Linked DNA regions of Homo sapiens: regions 1, 3, 4, 5 and 6 are each linked to region 2. The links are contacts of gene promoters, found by promoter capture Hi-C in blood cells and fetal thymus (Javierre and others, 2016). All regions are on one chromosome and are shown on one strand. Each heading gives the region's core, a stretch centred on a gene start or on the middle of the fragment in contact. The rest is flanking DNA. Distances are from core to core; before and after follow the strand shown. Region 1 overlaps ELAPOR2 (endosome-lysosome associated apoptosis and autophagy regulator family member 2). Region 2 holds the start of DMTF1 (cyclin D binding myb like transcription factor 1). Region 3 overlaps ELAPOR2 (endosome-lysosome associated apoptosis and autophagy regulator family member 2). Region 4 overlaps ELAPOR2 (endosome-lysosome associated apoptosis and autophagy regulator family member 2). Region 5 overlaps ELAPOR2 (endosome-lysosome associated apoptosis and autophagy regulator family member 2). Region 6 overlaps ELAPOR2 (endosome-lysosome associated apoptosis and autophagy regulator family member 2).

What was found. Contacts are between HindIII fragments. The CHiCAGO score rates a contact against its expected background, and 5 or more counts as called.
Region 1: a fragment that was not itself captured here is called in contact with the fragment with the promoter of DMTF1 in region 2 in 14 of 17 cell types (naive CD8 T cells, total CD4 T cells, naive CD4 T cells and 11 more); the score reaches 11.9 in naive CD8 T cells.
Region 3: a contact is called between a fragment that was not itself captured here and the fragment with the promoter of DMTF1 in region 2, in 2 of 17 cell types (naive CD4 T cells and total CD4 T cells). The highest score is 6.5, in naive CD4 T cells.
Region 4: a fragment that was not itself captured here is called in contact with the fragment with the promoter of DMTF1 in region 2 in 16 of 17 cell types (megakaryocytes, total CD4 T cells, naive CD8 T cells and 13 more); the score reaches 18.7 in megakaryocytes.
Region 5: a fragment that was not itself captured here is called in contact with the fragment with the promoter of DMTF1 in region 2 in 15 of 17 cell types (naive CD4 T cells, total CD4 T cells, total B cells and 12 more); the score reaches 18.5 in naive CD4 T cells.
Region 6: a fragment that was not itself captured here is called in contact with the fragment with the promoter of DMTF1 in region 2 in 5 of 17 cell types (non-activated CD4 T cells, naive CD8 T cells, total CD4 T cells and 2 more); the score reaches 9.4 in non-activated CD4 T cells.

Annotation. Positions count from the first base shown.
Region 1 is chr7:86,910,115-86,913,102 of GRCh38, reverse strand. It overlaps ELAPOR2 (endosome-lysosome associated apoptosis and autophagy regulator family member 2), which reads left to right. Exons shown (of 22, transcript NM_001142749.3): 14 at 1-162; 15 at 858-1,031. Among named protein-coding and RNA genes, the nearest start is that of GRM3-AS1, 110 kb to the right of the region's middle. The HindIII fragment of the contact is 301 bases long and covers 1,434-1,734 here.
Region 2 is chr7:87,151,194-87,154,576 of GRCh38, reverse strand. It overlaps DMTF1 (cyclin D binding myb like transcription factor 1), which reads right to left and starts at 2,124. Exons shown (of 18, transcript NM_001142327.2): 1 at 2,022-2,124. DMTF1-AS1 (DMTF1 antisense RNA 1) reads left to right here and starts at 2,084. Exons shown (of 2, transcript NR_136253.1): 1 at 2,084-2,275; 2 at 2,919-3,154. RefSeq lists enhancers at 1,929-2,490, 2,336-2,575, 2,491-3,054. The HindIII fragment of the contact is 3,514 bases long and covers 829-3,383 here.
Region 3 is chr7:87,009,020-87,012,525 of GRCh38, reverse strand. The region is part of intron 1 of ELAPOR2 (endosome-lysosome associated apoptosis and autophagy regulator family member 2); the gene reads left to right. Among named protein-coding and RNA genes, the nearest start is that of ELAPOR2, 49 kb to the left of the region's middle. The HindIII fragment of the contact is 1,597 bases long and covers 800-2,396 here.
Region 4 is chr7:86,926,657-86,929,737 of GRCh38, reverse strand. ELAPOR2 (endosome-lysosome associated apoptosis and autophagy regulator family member 2) reads left to right here. Exons shown (of 22, transcript NM_001142749.3): 9 at 2,822-3,002. Among named protein-coding and RNA genes, the nearest start is that of GRM3-AS1, 120 kb to the right of the region's middle. The HindIII fragment of the contact is 7,378 bases long and covers 1-3,081 here.
Region 5 is chr7:86,945,423-86,948,685 of GRCh38, reverse strand. ELAPOR2 (endosome-lysosome associated apoptosis and autophagy regulator family member 2) reads left to right here. Exons shown (of 22, transcript NM_001142749.3): 3 at 764-959. Among named protein-coding and RNA genes, the nearest start is that of ELAPOR2, 110 kb to the left of the region's middle. The HindIII fragment of the contact is 3,492 bases long and covers 27-3,263 here.
Region 6 is chr7:86,990,769-86,994,079 of GRCh38, reverse strand. All of the region lies in intron 1 of ELAPOR2 (endosome-lysosome associated apoptosis and autophagy regulator family member 2), which reads left to right. Among named protein-coding and RNA genes, the nearest start is that of ELAPOR2, 67 kb to the left of the region's middle. The HindIII fragment of the contact is 3,371 bases long and covers 1-3,152 here.

The DNA.
Region 1 (2,988 bases), core at 335-2,834, 240 kb after region 2:
GAACAGTCGGGTTCATCGTGTGTCCCCTGCCCTCCAGGCCACTACATTGAGAAAGAAACCAACCAGTGCAAGGAATGTCCACCTGACACCTACCTGTCCATACATCAGGTCTATGGCAAAGAGGCTTGTATTCCATGCGGGCCTGGGAGTAAAAACAATCAGGTAAGTGGGTCTGCATTTCAGGTATCCCCATGAAAGCACATTTTAATAGAGAAATTCAAGCGTTCTCCTTAATGTTTCTCTGGGAGCTATGAGGTTGCTATTTATTCTGAAATAAGACTTTCTACTTACCATTTCTGTTTTCTCCCTTCTTGCGTTTATTAAACACTTACTGTATGCTATGAAAGTACTAGTTACTGGTGACATAAAATATTAAAAGCTCCCAAATAAGAATGCTTTTCCAAAATATTAAAACTGATTTCTTGTGTATTGTTTAGGTACAGCAAATAAACTACCTATCTATAGGCTGGCTATAGCAGTCATCTGGGAACAGCTAGTGTTTCTTATAATTTTGAATGGCAAAGATTGATGCCATATTATGAGTGAAGGACAAAGCACTTTTACTGTCTGTTTAAATTTACGTAACAGAATTTTGGCTATTTCTTAAAATACCTTTCTACAAGGAACAAACTTGAGGATAACTTTACTCTGTCTTTAAAAGATTCTGAATTTTCTGAACTTTGTTTAGAAAAATCTAGTTAGAGTTTAGAAATTCTTTATATTAGTATGGTAAAGTATATTATAGCTAAGACTAAATTACTGGAATAGTTTTTATACCTAGAACTTTTTTCAAACACATTTTAGTAGCAGCTAATATTTTCTTTCCTGCTATATTGTTTCTTTATCTTTAATCAAAGGACCATTCGGTTTGCTATAGTGACTGCTTTTTCTACCATGAAAAAGAAAATCAGAGTTTGCACTATGACTTTAGCAACCTCAGCAGTGTGGGCTCATTAATGAATGGCCCCAGCTTCACCTCCAAAGGAACAAAATACTTCCATTTCTTCAATATCAGTTTATGTGGGCATGAGGTGAGTTCTGGCTGTCAAGGTGAGATGGACCTATATTTCAGCTCCGATCAAGTTGATATTTTCTGTGTTAATGGACCAATAAATTCTCTATGGATATCAACCAAGTGTCAGAAACTGAGGTTTGATTGCTTAGATCCTCTATTGCTGCCTAGAATATTGGCAGATTTCTCCACCAGGGGCAACCTTGTCTGGTTCTCAGTGTATCAAATCACTTATGCAGTCAGTTGAAACCTGAAGCTTGGAGCTATGGTGTAAGTGCTTTGAGGATGTTTTGTTTTCATAAAAATGGGTCAGGGTTGTCAATCTTACCTCTTTAGGCAGGAAGTTATTTGAGAAAGTTTTACTGTTGTTTATGTTGTCAATTTTGTGTTTTAAGAAGAAAAAGACTTTCAAGAGGAAGCTTGTCCAAAATAAAAAGGAGACATGCAGGGCCAAATATCAGTTGATAAGGTAGGCTTAAATCATACAAATGGGATTTTATTTGCTGTGAGAAGAAGAGGAATCTTAATTGATACTGGCAATGGGGAGAGGTTACAGGACCATGATGCCCAATATTTTAATGGACATATGAGGTTAGGGTTGGGAAGTATGTATAGGTATATACCTACAGAGTAGGAACAGGATAAGGCATTTCCTCCATGTCACTTCCCATATTAACTCCTATATTTTCAATTGTCTTCATTATGAGATACTGTGCAAAGCTTTGAACAAAGGAAACAAAAAGAGATCTGATGACCACAGAAGTTTTCAAACAAAAAGATCCATAAAATTTTACATAGTATGACAGCTGTCCTGTTTTGATTTTACCTGGGGTGATCCAAGACACTCACTAGATTGGTTACTCAGTTCACTCAATAAATATAAATTAAATACCTGTTATGTGCCAGATACTGTGGGAAGCAGTGAATAAGATTAATTCCATTGTCTACCATACTTCTATCACAATCTTATTGTACATTAGCACTACCTCTTTTTCCACCTTCTCTTCTCTTCACCTCTAGCTTCTATCTCTTTCCTTCCTTTTTATTCTTGTTTCTTTCCTTTTAGCTTCCACTATTTTCCTTTTTCTTTCCCCAGTACCTTTTCTCTGATCTTTTCCATTATTTTTTATTGGCTTCAACATTTTAATTTAAGCCTAGTAAAAAAAATATACTGGTGAGAAGGCCTATTGTCAGAAGGCCTGGTAGCAGGAGAAAAATTTATAGGTTAGGTCTGCTAGCTGCATTAAGAAAGATAAACTTTTATACTTTTCTTTTTACACATCTGTGTACACTCTATATCTAACACCAATGAAATAGTTTTCCTGTATTATTTTTACATTTACTTTGTAGAAATTATGGAGCAAGCTATAGTCTTTTGCAGTAGGACTACAGTAAATTTAAACATATTATATTTAAACAATTTTTCCATTTTTTATAAGTTATATCTTCCAATTATTTTCAAAATTATTAAAAAAGCTAATCTCTCTATTACCTTTAACTTGTTATACAGTTGAACAGATACACATCATTGAAACTAAGAGTAGGTTAATAAAGACACTTGTAGTGACCAATTATTTAGAATTCAGGTGTTATTCTAGAATTTTGCTGCAGTATGACTTTTGTGCTTTCTTCTTTAGCCTTCACATTACCTTTCTGCTACACATAGGGTCATAAAGGAAAAGGAAGACCAACACTTTTTCTTTGACACTGAAGCTTTCATCAGCAGTTTTCTGGTCTTTTTGCATGCATTGTTACTCTATGAATTGAACATTTCATAGATTACTTTTATTTTCTCAAGTTTGATGACTTTCATTTATCACAAATGATGCTTGTACTGGGAAGAGCAGTATAGTCTTGAATTACTGTATTTGTTATAACTGTAGACTCTGAAGTTTGGTTGAATATTGGACTTTCCTTGAGAGCTTTTAAAAAGTACTGATGGGTGGCTAGGCCTCATACCAGATCAACTAAATCAG
Region 2 (3,383 bases), core at 875-3,374:
AACGTATGAACTTAAAGTTCTAAGAAAGATGCAATGCCCAGTACTTACTGATTAAATGTTGATGAAGACAGGGCAATAGCATTTTGGCTCCACCATTAGCTCAACTGCAACCAATTAAAGAGATTCACGCAGAATATGCAGGTGCTAAATCAGTCCCCAAAAGCATATTTTGGGGTGAGCCTATCAACTAAAATAGTAAGAAAAAAAATTAGCTTGTTTGGTGGCATACAGAAGCACCTAGTATCGAGAGTTAAAATGAGATAAAAATCACCACAATCATGAAATGTATTTTTCACACCTGTAACATAATGGTTTTTTCCAGATACAATCAGGCTGGTTTTTGTGCTTTCTGTATGGAAGAAAAAAATTATTCTCACACCAAATTGGATTCTCTCAGCATGACAATTTTTGTAACGTTAAGGAATGTAGCTTTAACCTTTTTTCTCTAAATCTTAACAGAATTTCTAAATCCTAACCAAATACATGAAATCCTGTCTCTAAGTACACCATAAGAGCAAAAAGATAAGATTTTGGTGTATCGCCATAGTCATTCTTTAAATGTTAAAGTGATGGCAAATTATTCAAGTTATTAAAAGACAGTAATCCTCAGAAAGCTATTTGAAATATAATTTCAAAACCAGCTTAAAGAAATTTGAAGTAATGAAAAAACATGAAAACCCTTAACTGAAAAAAACAGATTTTGCAATACTTTCAACATAGTGGAAGAATATTTTCGTATTTGGAGCTTAAAAGCTACAAATGGTTTTCTCCCACGAATTAAAAATACAGGTATAATTTAAAATTTTCCAAATGGCGTCACTTTAAGCTTAAGACATGTCATATTAAAAAATAATTCCACAGAATATGCATTTTGTAGGACGTCCCAACATGCAGCCTCGACTGTCAGAAAGGAGGCACACATAATCAAATCCATGTACATTAAAAAGAGGTACACAAAGATGAATGAGTTGCGAAAAAAGCAACTACACAAATTCAATGAGAGAAAGGGAGGAGTCCTGACTCATACTGTATACTATTATCCTTTTCCTTATCTACACCGAGTATTTTATATAAAGACATATGCTCTATCATTCAATTGCACAAAAGGGCACTTGGCCACTTCTACTCTCAAATCTGCTCTGGAGATTGTGGTAAAACATTCTACATACCTCCCTGAAGAAATTCTCAAAGCGAAGTACATTTTAGAGAACAAAGTGGACTTAACAATTTTAAGAACTTTCTCGGAACTCGGCACAATAGGGTAATTACAACTTTACAGCCGCATTTTCCGTGCTCCACCAGGACTGTCCCCGCGCCCCAGCCCACATCCCTTCTTTAAAGAGAGTCAGACTGAGAGAGACGGTTCGGCCAGCTATCCCGATTCTCTATGTCTGGGCCGTGAATCGCCGAGCAAGGCTGAACCCCCGCAAAATTACAGAAGAATCTAAAGCGCAAACGAGGGAAAAGAACAAAAAAGCAAAGGGGGGGAAGTTGGGTCGAGACCCACCCCCACTCTCTCGACCCCACCCAAGCCTACCTCTCCTACGCTGGACCATAAAACAAAACCGAAAACGTAACAAAAATAAAAACTAAAAATAGAACACCACGAGAAAACAAGTAGGGCTTCCTTACTGTCTCCACTCCTTCTGGCCCAGTTCTCTACTCAACCTCCCGGCCCACCCCACCCCCCAGGGGTCCCGGCGCCATTTAGCTCCTCCGAAGCCGCCGCCATTTTCCGCCCCCGCCGGATCGCCGCTGTGCCTCGGCAGCCGCTCGCTTCCCTACTCTGCAGCCTGAGCCACGGGCACCGCCCGGCCCTAAGAGGGAGGCCCTGGCCGGAACGTGCGGGGACGGCAGCTGCAACGTCAGGAAGGCCAGGCTCCGACCCCGCCCGCAGTGCCCCGGCGCCGACAGCTTGCGCCAGCCGGCGGGAGCTAGCGGGCAGCAAGGGGGCCGGACAGGCTCCACTGGGCGGAGCGGCCCTGGCGGCGGTTGGAACCTGAAGGTTCCATCGCACTTACTTCCTGTTTTGGGTCCGGGCACTTTGGAAGAACCAGGATGGAAGCTCCAAAAAATACCAGGATGGAGGAAGCAGCCACGGGCGAGAGTGGCTGCAGCTGGAGTGAGCGAGCGCGACGAGCCACCGGAAACGGAGCTGCGGCCGCGCCCCGCCCCCAGCTCCCCGCACGCTGCCCCTCCCGCTCGTCTGTCCCGCTGGCGGCCCAGCGTGCTGGCTGTACGCGTCACTTCCGGCTGTGTCGGCGCGCGAAAAAAGGTCCTGGGTTGGAATGTTTGTACTGGTCTGTGGCGGTGGTTGTCGGCTGTCCTGCCAGGAAAACTCGGCACTGACTATCCCACTGCTGATGCTGTAAAAGAGGTCCTTCTGCTATGACGCAACTGTGGTTCCTCTGGTTCTGGGGACACTTAGGCCTCGCGTGCCGATTTTCATAGTTCCCTGTGGCTCCGAGCCGAGGGAGCCGCGGTGTGGAACGGAGGGAACCAGTGATCTCAGTGCTGAAGAAAACAGGGAGTGTGTGTCTTCATACTTGATTTGCCTTACCGCAGGGGCATAATATGAGATATCTGGGCGTGTTAAGTCGTTCTTGATGAAATGTGTCCTCTGTGAATGTAGTCTCACTGTTAGACTAGGAAGATGCTGTTTTGCTGTGCCCAGTTCCTCTTAAAAGTACAGATGCTCCTTGGGTTGCAGCCGTATAAACCCATCCTAAATAGAAAACGCGTTTTAATACCCTTATAAACGAAAAGGATAAATAAGCCTTTGGGTTCTGTAATGTGAGCCAGCATTCTTTGAGTGCGTATGTGACAGGTAAATGTTTTACGTATATTAAACTCATTTAATGTTCATAAGTTCTAAGTGCATCGCTACAATTATTACAAATGAATCCCATTTTACACAGGAACCAAAGAGAAGTGAAGGAATGTGTCCAAGGGCTCCCAAGTTGGCGGTGGAATTAGAATTGAAGCCTCAGCTCCAAAGCCTGTGTTCTGAACTACCCGGTTGCAGTTCACAAAATACACTTTGGCAGTACTTTCATAACGAAAACAAATGATTACAACCAGTTTACAAATGCTTTGCTTTACTGGAGGATCGACATGTTTGACTAATTTTCAAAAATAAATCTCAGAAGCAGCATTTTCTTGTGTTGATAACTTTATTACTAATTTGTGGCACTCTGCATTCTGTTGGAGTTAAGCCGTGTATCATTCCATTTTTTAATAAGTACATAATAATGTTTATGTAAGCAAAACTATGAGGCAGAATAGTATCGTGGTATGGACTCAGGCAGTCAGACCTGAGTGTGAATCTTGGCTCCATTTCTTAGTAGTGGATATGGCACTTCACCTCTTTTAGCTTTGTTTAC
Region 3 (3,506 bases), core at 349-2,848, 140 kb after region 2:
AGATATGATATAATTGAATAAAAACATACTGACTGAATGTAGAAAGAGTAGAACTAGACTAATACTGTGGTTAGTAGCCATTTGTGGATATTGACTACTTTTTTTTAATTTCTTTTTGAGAAGGAGTCTCACTCTGTCACCAGGCTAGAGTGTCATGGCACAATCTCGGCTCACTGCAACCTCCACCTCCTGGGTTCAAGCAATTCTCCTGGCTCAGCCTCCCGAGTAGCTGGGACTACAGGCATGCGCCACCATGCCCAGCTAATTTTTGTATTTTTAGTAGAGACAGGGTTTCACCATGTTGGCCAGGATGGTCTCAATCTCCTGACCTTGTGATCTGCCCACCTTGGCCTCCCGAAGTGCTGGGATTACAGGTGTGAGCCACCACGCCCGGCCAGATATTGACCACTTTAAATGTGGCTATTTCAAATTGAAGTGTGCTATATGTGTAAAATACACATTGGATTTAGATTATTTAGTACAATAAAAGAATGTAGTTTCTCATTAATATTTTTATATTGTTACTGTTCAAATGGTATCAAGTTAAAATATATTATTAAAATTAATTTTACCTGTTTTTAAAATCATTTTAATGTGACTACTAGAAAACTTAAAATTACACATGTGACTTGCATTTATAGCTTATATTTCTATTCAGAAGTATATAATATATAGCTGGTACAGATGTTATGCTGAATATTTAAAACATATAGACCCTGTCTTTTGTTTCTGTCATCTTTCTTCCCCTCCTATAAATATACCTTTAATATTGTTAGAAAGTAAAGAAATATGAAAAGCTTATTCAATGATCAACTCCCTAGTGACCCACCAACACATTTCTCATTATAGGTGGTTGTTATGTGCTTCTGTGAAAGCTCCCAAGACACCAAGTTGGTAAAAGCTGGATAAACAAGGCTGTATTTTTTATACAACAATGTTAAGCCAGTTGGCAATTTTGTGAACTCACTGAAACGGAAAAATTGTACTGAGTATTTGTATTAAAAAGAGTTATAAATATCTGCAATTATTACTCAAGTATGAATTATTTTAAAGTTTGTTACTATCAATAAGAACCGAATATTACCAGAGCATTCAGTAGTATTAGGAGTTTTAAAAAGCTGGATGCTATTTTCAGGTATACAGACATGGATTCAGTCTAGGAAAGGTTCTCTCCTTTATTACTTTGTTTAATGCAGCATGAAGTCAATTGTTCATTTGCAAACATGTTTTGTGGTGGTGTATTTTCTTTTTCTTTTCTTTTTTTTTTTTTTTTTTTGAGATGGAGTCTCGCTCTGTCGCCATGCATCTTGGCTCACTGCAACCTCCACTTCCCGTGTTCAAGCGATTCTCCTGCCTCAGCCTCCCGAGTAGCTGGGACTACAGGCACGTGCCACCATGCCCAGCTAATTTTTTTGTATTTTTAGTGGAGACGGGGTTTCACCATGTTGGCCAGGATGGTCTCGATCTCTTGACCTCATGACCCGCCCGCCTTGGCCTCCCAAAGTGCTGGGATTACAGGTGTGAGCCACTGCACCTGGTCGGTATATTTTCTTTTTAAAAATTTATCTAATCCAGGACAGTGCTGACATTTTTTTATTTTCCAAAGCCTTTATTTTAAAAGTAACATTTTACTCATATAAACTTGGACAATGTAAAATTATGTATATAGTGGTTCCTCTGTATCTGTGGGCTGCACATCTGTGGATTCAACCAACCTCAGATTGAAACTATTTGAAAAAAAAAATGGCATCTGTCCTGAACATGTAAGGATTTTTTTCTTGTCATTATTCCCTAAACAGTGCAGGTATTGTCTTAACATAGAATTTTCACTGGCTTTATGTTTTTAAACTATAATAGTACCTGTCTGTGAATTGTGCAGATTGTGCTATAATATCCCTAGAGAAATGGTAAAGACAGCAGCAGAACAAGGCTCTTCTCTGTTCTACTCAAAGGGTCATCTCTTCTGCCAGCTCTAAAAAACAATAGAAATTCTTAGAGAAACTCACATTTTAAAAGTTTTTAGTGATCCTTCAGTAGAAATGCATAGAAATGTATCAGAATTCATTGTTTTTTTCTGAAATGCTAGAGGATGCTTAGTCTTCCCCTATGTAGCCTATAATTTTAGTTCTGTGTTAATATGAACACTGATGAAAGACATAGGTAGTACTTCTGATAGTACATTTTCACTTCCTACGTTGGAGATTTATTTGACTCCATTTATATCTGTTAAATCAGTTTAGCTCTACTTGAATCCCAGTTTCAAAGATTTCCAACTGGAAAGCTGACAAAACTATTGGTGTGGGTGGAGAGTATTAAGAATTTTGCTTTTAGTTTTTCTCCCATTGGAATACAATGTATTTGTTTCTAAGAATTATAATCAGTTGTAGACTGAAGCTTTGTAGGAAATATTAAATGTAAATTCCACTGTAAAGTTTGACAATAGCCACAGGCACAGATTTTATTTCTGAAACTGGGAAAAGAGACCTCTAGAGAAATAGAATGGTTTGAACTTGGACTTTTTTTCTTTCTTTCTTTCTTTCGTAATGAGTTTACCTGGAAAGACCTTCAAAGGTAGTGTTTATAAAAAGAATTTTATATACAGATTTTAAAGGATGTTCTTTAAAGCTTTTTTAGGTTTACTGGAGAAAAACAGAAGAGCTAATAAATTCATACAAATAACCCTCGTTGTACTGTGGAGGGTGTTAATAGCTTTCTTTAAAGATGAACTTGTAAAATGCTTTGTGAGCATTCTAAATACTTATTAGCCTGCTTGACAACCAGTGGTTACCTTGGGCCTTTTTATTGCTAGAGGTGAGAAAGCCAGAGAAAGGATTTGGAAACACCAGTCTTCTTCTGCTTCCTTTTGGTGCAGATCTTTATTCCTGCTTTTCTGTACTGTTGGGTTAGCCTCTTACTTGATTTTATTTTTGAAATAGCCATTATTTCACTACCTTTCCTAATCCCAAAACACTGGGGTACTCCACTGACTATATTAAATTTATGTACCTCTGGCATTCAAAACTCTTCAATGATCTGGCCTCAAACTGTTTTTCAAGTATTTTCTCTTACTCTCTATTCCCAAGGCAAACTGTCTCTTTTCAGTTGTTGTGATAAATCCTGTAATTTGTTTCTTAGTGTCCTTCTTCCTAATGTTCTGTCTGTGTAAAACACCTTTGTGGTTCATTCCCTGTTTCTATTATGTATATTGAAATCTTTTCCATAGATTGAATCTCTACTTCCTCTTCCAAGCCACTGTGGGATCTCCCAGGTTGAGCTAAATGTGCTCTTTGCCCTTTAAACTTTGTACGGTTTTTGTAGTAATTATCAAAATTCACCTTGCTTGATGGTTAGTTGCATTTATGTCTTATCTATTCTATAAGGAAGATACATACCATGTCTCATAGGTGGTTTTTGTTGTCGTTGTTTTGTTTTTTGCTCAGCATTGCTTAACAAAATTAGGGATCTAATTTTTTTAAATTCATCAGTCAGTGAATTCAGGTATGTTC
Region 4 (3,081 bases), core at 57-2,556, 220 kb after region 2:
TTCAACATAAGACTTGCATGGGGACAGAAATCTAAAACATATCAGAGGAGAAGGAGGTAAACACATGGGAAAAGAGAAAAGCAGCAAAGCCGTCATAGAAAAGGAAGGTAGGTGAATGCTGATATGTATTTGGGCAGGCTGACGACCTACTTAACACAACTGTACATGTTGAGCATGGCTTTGAAGGAGGAGTCAGATACAAGTTGGCAGCATGGTGTGGGTAATTCCAAGAGAGACAAATGATGAGTGCCCAGTGGCTTGCAACTGGAAAAGATCAAGGTTTGAGACAGCCTGGGAGATAAGAAATTGCCTGCTTGGCTGAGACCACCTGAGCCAGAACATCATGGAGCACAAGGCAGTTAGGTTAGGGTCAGTTGGTAGACCTTTTAAAAACACATGTAATTTAGCCCTGATGAGTTGAGCCAATTTATAAAGACTTAGTGCATTTGTGAAGTGACAACTGAAATAAATCAGACAACCATGGACAAAGCCAGTCTCAAAATTTGCCTAAATTGTAGTCCTCCCAGTTCTGAGTTCTGTTTTTATATGAGAATCAGCTTTCAGTTGATACCTCTGTGTGTTTTTAAAAATGTGGTTTTTTTTTCATGCTGTATATGAATGCAGACACTGGATCTCTTTTGTAATCTTAATAATAAACTGGTAAATTTTGCTTTATTAGGGTTTTGGTTTTATAAGACATTTCATAGTTTTATCTCAACTTGCCAAAGAATGAATTGATTATTGGTTTTTCATCTGCACTGGAAGCCCTCTGGTTCTAAGTATTATTAATATTAATTATTATCTTTACCTAGTCAGCCAGACTTGAAAGCATCTGTCTCCATTAGAAAGAGAGGCACAGAATCAATCTGCCATGTGAAACAAGAGGCTTTGTAAATAAAACTTTTACTATAGAGCATTTGAAATTTGATTTCTACATTTTTAAGTATTTAAAAGTGGTGTATATTTTTTAATTTTTAAGAAGTTTGCATGTATTGAAAGTCATGTGGTTAGCTGACTTCTCACAATATATTTGCATATTTTATTATTTTTACCCTTACCAAACTGACTCTTGTTGACTGGTGTTACTTTACCATTTACTAGTTGTGTTTGACTTTTGGGCAAATTAAGAGCTCTAATCTGGAGTGTTTCCTCATTTATAAACTTGAGGATAGCAATACCTACCTCTCAAAGTGATTAAGAAGATTACATAGTACAGGGTGTCAGCACCGCCCGCCACTCCCACCTGGGAACCAACTACTTTCACTAGTGCAGTAGCTCACACATAACGCAATCCATTTGTATTAATGTCAAAATAAATCAGCAAATTAGGGAATTAAGTAGGATTTGAAATTTGTTTTCTATGCTTGTTAAACCAGAATTTTAAGAAAGTAATCTCTCCAATATGATGATGTTTCATTTGCTTAGATTCTCTGAATTTTATATTGCTTTTCTTAAGGGGAGTTGAGAGCCCCTTTATTTTTCCAATTATTTAGGAATCCCCAGCAGGAGCAGCCATTATTTTACAGATGGTAAGAAAGGCAGGTGTGTGAAGTGGCTGGTTAAAGTGTATCATGATGCAACTCATAAAAATGAATATGGAAAAAGAGAGTTGTAAAAAGAAAAAATGTTATTTATAACTATTTTGAGACATTTACCTTTAAATCATTTTCTTAAGCCTCCTTCTTCAGATAAGTTAATCTACTCTTCCATAAGAATACTTGAGAATAAAATTGGGTAGCCTAAAGGAGTTATTATACATGATTTTCTACTAACTGGAAATAGCTATGGACAATCGCCTTTAATTTTGATTCCCCAGCTTTAATAGCAGACTTCCTATTGCAGAAGTTGTTTTAAAGGAGAAAAAATACTTTTAGCAGATTATATGTTTAAGAAAAGGAACTTTTAGTCTCTTTTAAAAATGCTGCATTTAGTTATTAAATAGTTGATTTATTTTTATGTTTGCATTTAGAATTCCTTTTCTGTTTTCCTCCACTGAACATACCAATTTTGTTTTCGAATGGCTAACCCATTTGGTATCTCTGGTTTAAAAATGAGAATAAAAATTTGATAATAATGGCTTTTGGGGTTTGACTGAGTTACAGCTGTTTTCTTATATTTTGCTTTGTGTGGGGGTGAATGAATGAGTGTGAGAGAATAAAAGGGCAGAGTTTAAAAGACTGCTCTCCTTGAAGGCAGAGGTTGTCTTAATCATGATGTTCAGAGCCCATGGATCAGGACCTAGAAGCCTCTGGGGTAAACATTTTAGCTACAGCTCTTGTAGTCTAACATCAGGTTATTGAAAAAGACTCCGAGAACCACTACCAATATTATGAACTAGCAGGATTGAAATGTGAATCTTGATATATTCTTTCTGAAAAATAACCTTTTTGTGATTGCTATGTGCAAAGCATAATGAAATGTGCTGTTGGAGGAAAGGAAGAGGTTAGTGGAAGTCTCAAAATGAAAAAGCAAGTTGCTGCGTAGAAACTTATGTCAGCTATGGAATAAAGTAAATGAATGGATAGAAGAGTAAGGGTGATAAACAGGTTACCTACATTTTAAAGAGTTATTTCATGATGAGGAACATGCTGTGTACGAGGGAAGGCCACCTATAGCTTAGGGTAAAAGCATTTGGAAGTAACAGTCATTTCCCCACCAATGTTCTCTCTTTTCTCTCATTTTGTCACTGATGTTTTAGATTCTGTCAGCTGGCCCTTCTATTCTGTCACCATTTGTACTTTTCCTATACTGCCAGTTTAAGATTTTTGTTATAAGCATGTTATATGACTTGGTTGCTTTTTTTTTTTTTTTTTTTTTGTAGACACAGATAATGTACAAGTGGATAGAGCCCAAAATCTGCCGGGAGGATCTCACAGATGCTATTAGATTGCCCCCTTCTGGAGAGAAGAAGGATTGTCCGCCTTGCAACCCTGGATTTTATAACAATGGATCATCTTCTTGCCATCCCTGTCCTCCTGGAACATTTTCAGATGGAACCAAAGGTAGGATGTCAATTGGTCCAATAACTGGGCCTTTAGCAAAATGATCTTGTTGGACTACTGTGACCATTTTCTAAATTGT
Region 5 (3,263 bases), core at 523-3,022, 210 kb after region 2:
ACAGTTCTCAGAGTCTGCAGAAAGCTTGACATCAGAAATAAGATATAGGTGGTAGAGATGACTAGGTTGGTGTGAATATTGAAAAAGTGGGCTCATGGTTTCAGAGTGGAGATAACCTGTTCAACTATTGCACTGCTTTCCTGTTTCCCTTTTTATATTTAGTTGTCACTCATTGGATCAGCATTTTATCTGGACTTAGTATGTGCCTGATACAGCTAGGAATCCAAAAATAATGATCCTTGTTTTCTTAAAGCTCAAAATCTCACATCAACTTATAAGTGGTCTTAATATGTGCTTATCCACTGATTAGCATAAATTAAGTGCTTTAATGGAGGTATTATAACAAGTGCACTGTAGGACCATAAAGGGAGGTACAACTGACTGCCCATTGGGCCAGGGGAAGGGATCTGTTATGAAGTGAGTGGTTTTTGAGTTGAGAACAGGAGTGTTCCATGTAGAGAAGGTAGGATTGGCCAACATCTATCTTGTAGGAAAGAAGACCACAACAGCAGGAGAGAGGATGAAATATTTTGGGAATGATAGGAATTCTGTTTTGGCTGGAAGAGGGTGGGGCAAAGGGTGAGCTTGGAAAAATAGGTTGGAACCAGATTGTGAAATGCATGTAGTGATAAGAGGAATTTGAAAGGCTTTCGTTTGAGTGTGGCACAATCAGAGTTTTATAAAAATAATTCTGGTGACAGCATGAAGGGGAGGAAATTGATGGGAGGGTAAGTAATGGGTTGTCCATTCTTCTGCCTTCCAGCTTTCTCCTGTGCTTCTGGAGAGTATCTAGAAATGAAGAACCAGGTATGCAGTAAGTGTGGTGAAGGCACCTATTCCTTGGGCAGTGGCATCAAATTTGATGAATGGGATGAATTGCCGGCAGGATTTTCTAACATCGCAACATTCATGGACACTGTGGTGGGCCCTTCTGACAGCAGGCCAGACGGCTGTAACAAGTAAGAATCCAAAGCAGCCTTTGGCTCTTAACTGAATATTTGAGAAGAAAGTAGTTGCTCTTTTCCAGAAAGAAGATGAGGATAATCTTGGTACTGTTTGTGGTGATAGATAAGCTAATTGCAAAGAATCATGTTTTTTGGACGGTCATTGCAATGAGTTTTCATGAGGTTAAAATCATTGCCCTCAGGATATAATAGACACTGTATGCAAAAATGCAATAAAGCTGTTAGAGAAGCAAATTAATTTTCTCATATTTATAACTACATTTAAGCCACTGGTGTTTCTACTAACCTTTTTCTGATTTTTAACAGATACTTTCAGGTTTTTTTATTTTCCTCTGACAGGAAGAATTCATAACCTTCATTTAGACACTTGATTATCTCCTATAAAAGAGAGTGGGTTAAGTACCTAAGGTGGAAAGCGCCTTTGCTTAATTCCTACCTCTTTTATAGGGGATTATTAGCTTTGCATATGACAAAGCTGGAGAAATGTTAAACTGTTTTGAAAAAAACAAAACAAAATGTTTGTCTTTGAGCTATATCCCTTCCTGTTCCCTTGTATTAATTATGTAACATTTCCTTTCATATGGATTTGCTTAGGAGAATTCAACTTTAGGGCTCTGGCTACCCCCTGACAAGAGTAGCCTCTCAGGAACCCCACATTTTTACCATAAGCTAAGGATGCTGGGGAATTATTTAGCTGTGTTGAAAGGCATATTCATTCCCTCCCTCCCTTCCTTTCTTCCTTCCTTTCACTCTAGCTGTCTTTTTGCCAAATGATGCCAATTTCTTTATTTTAATCTCTCGATAATAGGATTATTTCCTTGAGAGAGTGTGTGTTTTAAGTAAAAGAGTTCCTTAGAGGAAGGTACTAGTAGGATGTTGTGGGACCTCAGATCTTTGTTTTGGTGGGCAGGAGATACTGACAAGGCTTCTTTTTCTGCCTGGAATAGTTTATGCATAAAAGAAATCGAGTAAGCGGAAGTTTTTCAATGTAGTGTTTTCTAGTGTAATTTTCTCAGTGTAAATTTGAGTCTGGGCCAGTGCGGCGGTGGCTCATGCCTGTAATCCCAGCACTTTGGGAGGTCGAGGCAGGCGGATCACCTGAGGTTGGGAGTTCAAGACCAGCCTGACCAACATGGAGAAACCCCATCTCTACTAAAAATACAAAAATTAGCCTGGCGTGGTGGCAGGTGCCCGTAATCCCAGGTACTCTGGAGGCTGAGGCAGGAGGATCACTTGAACCCTGGAGGCAGAGGTTGCGGTGAGCTGAGATCGCACCATTGCACTCCAGTCTGGGCAACAAGAGCAAAACTCCGTCCACTTTTGCATACTTTTTATTTCTCTTTAATTAGTTGTGTCATATAGGAGATGTATGTTGAACTTTCTAAAAAGTCTGAGCTTTTCAAAATGGTTATATCATTGTAGACTCCCACCAGTAGTATATTTTAGTTCTAGTTATTCTACATGTTTACCAACATTTGTATTGTTAAGTCTTGTTTTGTTCTAGCCCTAGGCTTTCCAGTGTATGCACACGTGTGTGTGTGTGTGTGTGTGTGTGTGTGTGAGAAATGGTATCCCTTTGTTTTAATTTGCATTTCCCTGCTGGATAATAATGTCAAACATGTTTCATGTGTTTATTGTTCATGTGTTTATTAACTTTTGTGAAGTCAAATTGTTTTGCCCATTCTCTACTTTTTTTTGGTCATTTGATTATTAAGCTGAAGGAGTTCCTGTACATTCTGGGCATGGGTTCTTATGTGTATATATTTATATAATAAATATATAGTATGTGCACATACACATACACACGTCTCCATGTGTGTGTAACACTTCTTCCCAATTTGTGGTTTTTGCCTTTTTTGTTTTCTTAATAGTGTCCTTTGATAAGCAGAAGTTTAAAATTTGAAAGAATACAATTTATTATTTTTTTCTGCTGTGGTCATATGTTAGGATATCTTTGCTAACCCCAGGTTGCAAAGGCTAGAAATTACTGTATGCATCCTTATGGTAACATAGAGTTATTATTGTACCTTTATATAATGTTAAATTTTACAACAGCATAGTTACATCTATACCCTTATCTTCATACTATTGCCATATATTTAGAAACATGTTATAAACCCTACAATACAATGGTATTATGTTTTAAATAATTAGTTGCTTTTAAAATAACCTTACAAAGATTTAGGAACTCAAAGCCAAGTCCATCACTGACAAGTTCATTTCACATGACACACAGCTTCCTAAAAAATTAAGGTGAAAAAATATAGCTTTATATGTTAATCTACGTATTTATCATTA
Region 6 (3,311 bases), core at 218-2,717, 160 kb after region 2:
TCCCAAAGAGATTAAAATTTGGCCAGGAATATAAGTTTTGCAATAAGAAAGGAAATCTGAGGAATGATGTCAGTGGCATAGGTTAAAAGGCTCAAAGAGATCAAAGAGAGATTTTGATTTGGAAAAGATTCAATTGAGGAGAGGTATTGAATAGGTTCATAGGAAGAGAGTAATTTAGCTGAATGGGCTGTATGTGTGTGTTGTATGTGGTGAGTAGAGGAAACTTGTCCATAATAGAGGGAACACATGAACTTGTGATTCATTTAGAAGTTAGTAATTAAACTAGTTTGTCTGGAGTGTTGGGATTGTGTACAAGTTGGATTTTGAGAAGGCTTTCAGGACTAGATTATAGAGGATTTGGAATGATCAGCAAGTGGTTTGGACATTAACAGTTTCAATTACAGTTTTATCATCCATTTTTGGTAAAAGAAAATGAAAGGCAGTAGTATAATTCTAATTTAACTCAACCTTAATGTAAAACAGTCTTTCAAAAGAGATTTATCAGCATCAGTAGGTAATTTGCTGTCCTCCAAATATTTGTAAGATTCCTCTTATTTTAATAACCTAGATGGCTAATTCTCTTCCTCCTTTTGGATTTCTTCACTCAGTAATAATGGTATTGTATTGTATTGAAATAACTCATCTCTTTGATTCCTCTATTTGTTCCTCTAGAGGGCAGGGCTATGTCTCATTCACTGTCATATTCCTAGTGCTTATTGTGTGGTATGTGATTACTGCAGGATGGTTAAGTGAACTCAGTTCTGGGTTCCAGTCACTTCATTTTGTAAGATTTTCTTTTTTCTTTTTCTTTCCTTTTCTTTTCTTTTTCTTTTTTTTTTTTTTTTGAGATGGAGTCTCGCTCTGTCATCAGGCTGGAGTACGGTGGTGCGATCTTGGCTCACTGCAACCTTCGCCTCCCGGGTTCAAGCAACTCTCCCGCCTCAGCCTCCTGAGTAGCTGGAACCGCAGGTGCGCGCCACCACGCCCAGCTAATTTTTGTATTTTTAGTAGAGACAGGGTTTCACCATGTTGACCAGGATGGTCTTGATCTCTTGACCTCGTGATCCACCCGCCTCGGCCTCCCAAAGTGTTGGGATTATAGGTGTGATCCACCACGCCCGGCAAGATTTTCTTTATACTTTCAGTGAATCTCTGTAGTTTTTATAGTTGTTGCATTTTTTAAGATGATAGAGGATCATGATCATGACATTCCTTAACTATTTTCAAATCGATGAAGGATTCCAAAATTGAACATTCTAGCTATTTTGAATCAGAACATCAGTTAAGACATTTGACAAACTTCTTTTTATAATTTTGTCCCCATAGTAGCATGAATAGAAATAAATTCACCTTTTCATTTAATGTGATCAGACTCTACTGGGAAAGACAGAGAGGACAGATTAGAGCTTAGTTAAAGTTGCTTTTTCCTATTTTTTTCATATGAATGTAGTTTAGGAAATAATGTGGGTCCAACTTATTTAGTATAAGGTAATGATAAATATCCATTTTATTTGGATTTGATCTCGACTGAAGATTCTAGAATTATATCTTGGAAAACTCAGTTTTAGGAATTTCTTTTATTAGGAGCTATTTTTTGATATCTTGGAATACTCAGTTTAAGAAATTTATTAGGAGCTATTTTTTTTTTGAGACAAGAATCTTGCTCTGTTGCCCATGCTGGAGTGCAGTGGCACGATCATAGCTCACTACAGCCTCAAACTCCCAGGCTTAAGTAATCCTCCTGCCTCAGCCCTCCCAAGTAGCTGGAACTACAGGCATGTACCACCATGCTCAGCTAATTTTTAAACTTTTTTCATAGAGATAGGGTTTTGCCCAGGTTGGGGGTTGGGTGTCTTAAACTCCTGACTTCATGCAGTCCTTCCGCCTTGACCTCCCAAAGTGCTGGGATTACAGATGTTAGCTACCAGGCCTAGCCAGGAGCCATAAAAAAATCAGCTTCCTGTTGTAGCAGCAGTTTACTTCCCTTTCCTGTATTGATGACACTATTTTGATTTATGCATTGGAAAAAGCATATGATGTAATTTGCTTTCAATATCTATTATCCCCATTTTCCTTAGTGACAGAAACCTGGGCAACATGCCTAGTTAAAGCACCCTTTCCCAGGCTTCTTTATAGCTTGTGGTCATTGACTAAATTCTGGCAAATGAAATGTAAACAGATGCTTCAGATGGGATTTTCAAGAAGGCTCTTTAAAAGAGGGAGAGCACACATTCTCTACTTTCTCTTTAGTTAATTTTGTCTTGCTGACTGTCACATGAATATAATGGCTGGAACATTAGCAGCCACCTTGGATGCTGAGGTGACCTGGAGGATGGAAGCCAAGAGAGATAAAGCAGGAAGACAGAAGGAGCCTCATGACTTCATGGAGCCTTTAAACAAGCTCTGGACTGCTTGTTTCTTGCTTGAACAAACTGGCTCTGAACTGCCTGGCTTATTCCAGTGACTGCCCTGGTATAATAGAGTTGGGGCAAATTTTCTCAACTGTCAACAATAACTTACTAATTACTTTCATAATCAGAAAAGTCATGTGTGTGTGTGTTTTGAAAGTAGAAGACTGTAAATTCTTCTGGTAGACCACATCTATGATGGTAATATCACTAGAAACAAAGAAATCTGGAGGTGAGAACCAATTTTACTGGAAAGAGAACAATGTTGTATACTAGATGAGACCTCAGCCTTGGGAGCAAGGTGTCTTGGAATGTTTGACCCAGTGGAATGTTTGACTGGCCAGCTATTCAGTAACACAGTTATTAAATAACATGGATATGCTTGTTCCTTCAACTGTAAAATAAATCATCAACATTCACCTGATACATCAATCACCTGATATGGTCACCCACAAAGCTGCTCTGTGCCAAGTCTGTGAAGGCACTTTGGTAGTTCTTGGGACTGATAGCCCTTAATCTGTATCTTACCTGTAGTGCTCATTGCTTGTTATTATATGTGATGGATATAAATATACATTTATAAATAAATCTGTCCATCCATATATACAATGATAGATTAATAAACACAGTGCTGGTGTGTTCATTTACAGCTCAGATAAATAAATTCAATTTTTTAGTGGCAAACATACCATATAGATTAAAGGAACAACCCCAGTTTCCTTTGACAGACCTGCTTTCCAAGCTTTGTGGCCATAAGATGCTTTGCAGTTGAAGCATATATCCCAAGGAGATTAAATAAATTCTTGTAGTTAGCAGTTGGAGAGCGTATTGCTTCTTTTCTGTGAACACTGAAGAAAGGAATATTTTATGATGAGAATCACAAACTGTATAAGTTTAAGCTGA